Regions from separate parts of the Homo sapiens genome. Here region 1 is linked to region 2. Evidence: promoter capture Hi-C in 16 types of primary human blood cells and fetal thymus (Javierre and others, 2016). All regions are on one chromosome and are shown on one strand. Each heading gives the region's core, a stretch centred on a gene start or on the middle of the fragment in contact. The rest is flanking DNA. Distances are from core to core; before and after follow the strand shown. Region 1 overlaps DNAJC27 (DnaJ heat shock protein family (Hsp40) member C27). Region 2 holds the start of LINC01381 (long intergenic non-protein coding RNA 1381).

Evidence for each region. Contacts are between HindIII fragments. The CHiCAGO score rates a contact against its expected background, and 5 or more counts as called.
Region 1: a fragment that was not itself captured here is called in contact with the fragment with the promoter of LINC01381 in region 2 in 2 of 17 cell types (M0 macrophages and M1 macrophages); the score reaches 5.3 in M0 macrophages.

What each region holds. Positions count from the first base shown.
Region 1 is chr2:24,944,555-24,947,255 of GRCh38, forward strand. It overlaps DNAJC27 (DnaJ heat shock protein family (Hsp40) member C27), which reads right to left. Exons shown (of 7, transcript NM_016544.3): 7 at 1-2,701. Among named protein-coding and RNA genes, the nearest start is that of ADCY3, 26 kb to the left of the region's middle. The HindIII fragment of the contact is 1,384 bases long and covers 667-2,050 here.
Region 2 is chr2:25,203,015-25,205,714 of GRCh38, forward strand. LINC01381 (long intergenic non-protein coding RNA 1381) reads left to right here and starts at 1,299. Exons shown (of 2, transcript NR_132378.1): 1 at 1,299-1,535. RefSeq lists a silencer at 1,297-1,636. The HindIII fragment of the contact is 10,460 bases long and covers 1-2,700 here.

The DNA.
Region 1 (2,701 bases), core at 109-2,608, 260 kb before region 2:
TGAGGTAAAAGTATGCCTTAAAGAATGATGTGCAATCTATAAAACTGTAGCATTTTCTCTTGGGTAGCAACACAATGACCCCCAAGTCTGGATTTTTAAATTAACAGGCTAAGAAAACTAAGGACACATTGATATAGAGAAATAAAATAACAATGCTGAAGTCAAAGAAATATTGACAGCTGAGATATCAATTCAAAAGGAGGCATGAAGGGGAACAGAGGAACAGAAGGAGGCTGTATTTTAAAGTGCTTAGGTAGGTTAGAAGATGAATTTGAAATGCCTCCAGGGATTTCTAACAAGTTTAAAAAGTGTTACTTCTTGGTGACTCAGATGTTGAAGACATGGCTTTTCTTTAATAATAGCTATTCAAACTTTTTATTCTTTTTTGAAAAACAAGATTCTCTATAAAAACGTTTTAGCCATTGTAATTATTCTGCTAGCTGTTACTCTCACTAATGTATTTTGAAATCCTAACTGGCTGAAGAATTTTTAATAAGGTTGAACTACAAAGCACACATTTGCACCAAGAATTTAAATTAATGCATAGATGTCTGTGAAATTCTGCATGAAGTTAGTGCCAAAAAAACCTTTCCATTGCAGATCATGCTTTATTTCTTAATATTCTGCTGAAGGATTATAGAAATCAGAAAAATTCTAGGACCCTGAAGCTTAACTTGCTTATTTTATTCCTTTTACGTAAATGAAGTGGTATATGGCCATTCTTAACATTAATAATGAAGGTGTTGGAAACTGAGTCTCAAGACCTAAGAATCAAGCTCAGGCTAAATTTCACCAACTCACACATAAGGATATGAGTGGGAGCACTAATGAATTTTCTCTGCTGTAATTGCTCATCTGTGCAATACGGCTGAATGAGGTTCCCAATCTAGTATTTAATAACAGTGATGAAAACTGGCACCAGCTTTCATAGAGGGCCACACATTCAGAGTTGTCGTGTCAATTCGGGCTGACGCTACCGTGCACGATCCCTCATTCATATGACTTCTACATTCTGCTGTGAGGACAGACATGTCTGAGTGCTTTCAGCATGATAAAGGCCTTCCTTAAGCAAAATTTAGGTCCCGAAGAACTCTGGGTTGGAGTTCTGTAGCCTCAGAAGCCAGTTAAAGGCCAGAGGAAAACCTCGCAAGAAATAACATATATCAATCAGTTCATTTAAAAAGTTGTTTTGATATTACCAAGATGAAAAGTGCGATGATAAAGCAACGCTCTGGTTTCCTGAAGACAAGCTCAGTGCAGCCCAAGTACAGGCATACAGTGAAAAGCTGCTGTGTGGAAAATCCACAAGGCTGCAGTGGGCTTGGATTGGAAGAAAGTGGCTTTTCTTCTTAGGAGGTAAGGTAGATGCTCTTTGGCAATCGATATGGGATAGCTTTTTAAAATTCACAGGACAGGAAGATTTTATATACTTTCAAGCCCCAATTAGTACAGCTAATTGAAAGTATATAAAAATGTGAATTAGTGTGGTTGCAGCTAAAAGTATGAGTGATGTAACAAGAATGACGACGTAATGAGTCAAGTGGTGAGACTAGTTCTATAAGCACCGTAAGGAGTGCCAGTCCTAATACATGAACTTCATCCATCCCTTGTATATCAAGGAGGAGACTGTGGTCAGAGAATGTATTTTGTAAGCTATAGTTTAAAAATATTACTCTTCAGAAATTTGGAGCCCAAGCAGGAATTACAGAGATTCCTCCCAACAGAGGCCCTGAGATCTCCCCTGACTGCCACCCAAAGGATCCACACTTGCCTCTGATCAACCAGATTCAGGCCAAGGCTTAGAAGAGGGAGGAGGCAGTGGCCAGAAGCCAGGGACTCTAGAGGAGAGAAATGATGGCAGATGTGGGGTTCAGAAAAAACACAAGACGGGAAGGGGAAGAGGGGAAAAAAGGAAGAAACAACACTGGTGAGGAAGTGTAGAAGAGGCCAACTTTGCTGAGGAGTGGCCCTGCCTTTCTCACCTGCCTGTGGCAAAGGCTGGCAGTAAGACAAGGGCTAAGCCTCATAAGGAGTCTCTCCTACTGCATCAAGCTTGCCCCAAGCTTGGCTGGCCTTTCCTCTGCTGATGTGCATAATCTTTAAGTGCGACCTCTAAGTACCTTTTTTTTTTTTCTTTAAGAGACAAGATCTTACTATGTTGCCCAGGTGGGACTTGAGCTCCTGGGCTTAAGCAATCCTCCTGTCTCAGCCTCCTGAGTAGCTGGGACTACAGGCGGATACTACTGCAGCTGGCTCCTCCAAGTACTTCTGTCTTGGGGCCTGATTCCTCATTCCCAGGTGCACAGTGCTCTCTACTGCTACCAGCAACCATTTCTATGGCAAGGGAAAGGCCTCAGATCCAGGGACAGGATAGGCAGCAGCCAGTGTACCTAGAATTTGTGGCTGCCACCACCTTTTCTCTTAGGACTGGCTTGTCTCTCCCACTGGTGGCTGCAGAAGAGGAACAGAGTGAATATCATAAAGGAATGCTCAATTCAGAACTGTATCACCTCATTTTACAAACTCCCAAAGGGCTGCCAAGAGTCATCATTATAGATCGATGGGTTAAAATACCACCTAAGGAACTCATTGTAAAAGCAGCAACTTGTCTGTAAGGTCACACCAAACTTACAGGGGTTCTGATGTTGTTTGCTTCCATTTTTGTTATTTTCTTCTCTGATGATGAATTCCGTAAAAAAGA
Region 2 (2,700 bases), core at 49-2,548:
TTTGAGACAGAGTCTCGCTCTGTTGCCCAGGCTGGAGTGCAGTGGCACGATCTTGGTTCACTGCAACCTCCACCTCCCAGGTTCAAGCTATTCTTGTGCCTCAGCCTCTCCAAGTAGGTGGGATTACAGGTGTGTGCCACCATGCCTGGCTAATTTTTTGTATTAGCCAGGGTTTTGCCATGTTGGGCAGGCTGGTCTTGAACTCCTGGCCTCAAGTGAGGCCTCTCAAAGTGCTGGAAGTACAGGCGTGAGCCACTGTGCCCGGCCCGTGAGGGACTTTTGAGAGGACAGGAGCCAGCCATGGCTGGAATAATCCAATGTACAGAGTCTACCTGGTGCGGCTGTTGCTGTCTTGCCCTCGGGGAGTTCAGCCCCTGTAAGAGAGGTTCAGTGGTTCGGTTCTGCTCAGGGGGTTCCTCAGGCCAGTCTGGGAGACACTGGGTGACACTCACATTCCTGCACCCCCTAGTCCTGGCCCCAGTTCACACAGACCACTCGCTGTCATTGGGTAGGTATTAGGGTTCTGAGTCAGATGTCCTCCAAAGAAGGGGTTCTACCACAAATTGAGTTGCCAGATTTAGCAAATAAAAATACAGGCCAGGCCAGGAGTGGTGGCTCATGCCTGGAATCCCAGCACTTTGGGAGACCAAGGCAGGAGAATCACTTGAGCCCAGGAGTTCGAGACCAGCTTGGGCAAAATAGCGAGACGCCCCCCAGCTCTACAAAAAATACAAACATTAGCTGAGTGTAGTGGTGTACATCTATTCTGGAGGCTGAGGCAGGAAGATCTCTTGAGTCCAGGAGTTGGAGGCTGCAGTGAACTATGATTGTGCCACTGCACCCCAGCCTGGGCAACAAAGCAAGTCCTTGTCGCAAAAAACAAACAAACAAACAAACAAAAAACCAGGACAAAACGTTGGAGACATTCTGATACTAAATAGGACATCCTAAACAGGATAGATGTATACTAAAAATGTATCTGTTGCTTATCTGAAATTTGAATTTAACTGGACCTCCTACATTTAACCTGGCAATCCAAACTGAAAAAAAAAACCACCTAAAATTAAAATTAAATTAACAAAATTTAAATTTAATGAAATTAATAAAATTTAAAACAAAACTAAAATGAAAGAAAAAGTAAAATAAAAAAAATTTTTTAAATGAGTTAAATTAAATGAAACGAGAATAAAATCCCAAAAGAGGTGAACACTGCACAAGCGCGCACGCCTGCGCCGAGCGCCCGTGGCCCAGCAAGATGGCGAGGCCGCGCCTTCCCCACCCAGGCGTGGGGTCCTCGGGCCTCTGCGCGGCGCTCGCCCGGGACTGGGACGCAGAGCCGCGGACGGCTTTGGGGACGCCAGGGCTCCGGACTTCCCCGGCGGCGCCTCACGGGCGGCAATCGCCCGCGAGCCTTGGGGCGCGGCACCCAGGGCCTCCCCACCGGGCTCCGAGGGACGCAGCGGCCTCGCCACCGCATTAGGCCGAATCCGGTGCCTTCTAGAAATGGCCTCCTGCAGCTCCAGAGCGCCTGCAGGGTGAGCAGAGGCTGCTCTGTTTTCAAGAAAGCCGCGCGCCCTCATGGCCCCGCAGGGCCCCTCACGGCCTCTGCTGCTCTGGGGAGAAGGTAGCCGGCGCCACCGAGTCCCAGGAGGTCCCCGGACGCCCGCCCGGGCCCCGTGGGAGGGTGACGCCCGTGACAGCTCCTCTAGCTGCACTCTGCTGCCTCTGTCATTCTGCCACTCAAATCTCTGGCCTGACACTGTGCAGGCGGAAACAAGTGGGGGGCCCCTAGGTTTTCCCCCACAAATCTGAATGCTGAAAGGCGCGCCAGAGAACTTTTGCTCACTTGGGGAAAAGCCGATCTGTACCTTAGAAAGGGCAATAATAAGGATATAATATTAAATTAATAATACCTAATACAGTCATAAAGGTCCAGAACCTTATGCCCAGGCACCCCACTCCCTGGGAATGTATCCTAATGAAATAATTCAAAGGAATAACCGTGCCCTAGGCATAATCATGTTCATTATGGCATTATTAGTGTGAGCTAAAAATTGAAAACAACCTCGCCACCTAGCAAGGGAGAATGGTTAAGGGAACGGTTTTACACCCACTAGATGGAATGCCGTGTAGCCAGTAAGTGATTATTGCAAGGTCTGTAGAAACACGGGGAAATGTTTATAATGTAATCTTAATGAAAAATGGTTTAACATGAAATGGTAAATTCTCATGGATCTCAACTCCTTCAGAATTGCTTTTTCTTTTAATCGAAAATGTTATATAGATACTTGCAGATTCACATGCAGTTATAAGAAAATATAGGCCGGGCGCGGTGGCTCACGCCTGTAATCCCAACACTTTGAGAGGCCGAGGCGGGCAGATCATGAGGTCAAGAGATTGAGACCATCCTGGCCAACATGGTGAAACTCCGTCTTTACTAAAAATACAACAATTAGCCGGGCATGTGGCATGTGCCTGTAGTCCCAGCTACTCGAGAGGCTGAGGCAGGAGAATCGCTTGAACCCGGGAGGCAGAAGTTACAGTGAGCCAAGATCGGGCCGCGGCACTCCAGCCTGGTGACAGAGTGAGACTCCGTCTCAAGAAAAAAAAAAAAAAAAAGAAATGATACAGAGATCCCACCTCTACCCAGTTTTCCCCAATGGTAACATCTTGCAGAACTATAGTACAATATCACAACCA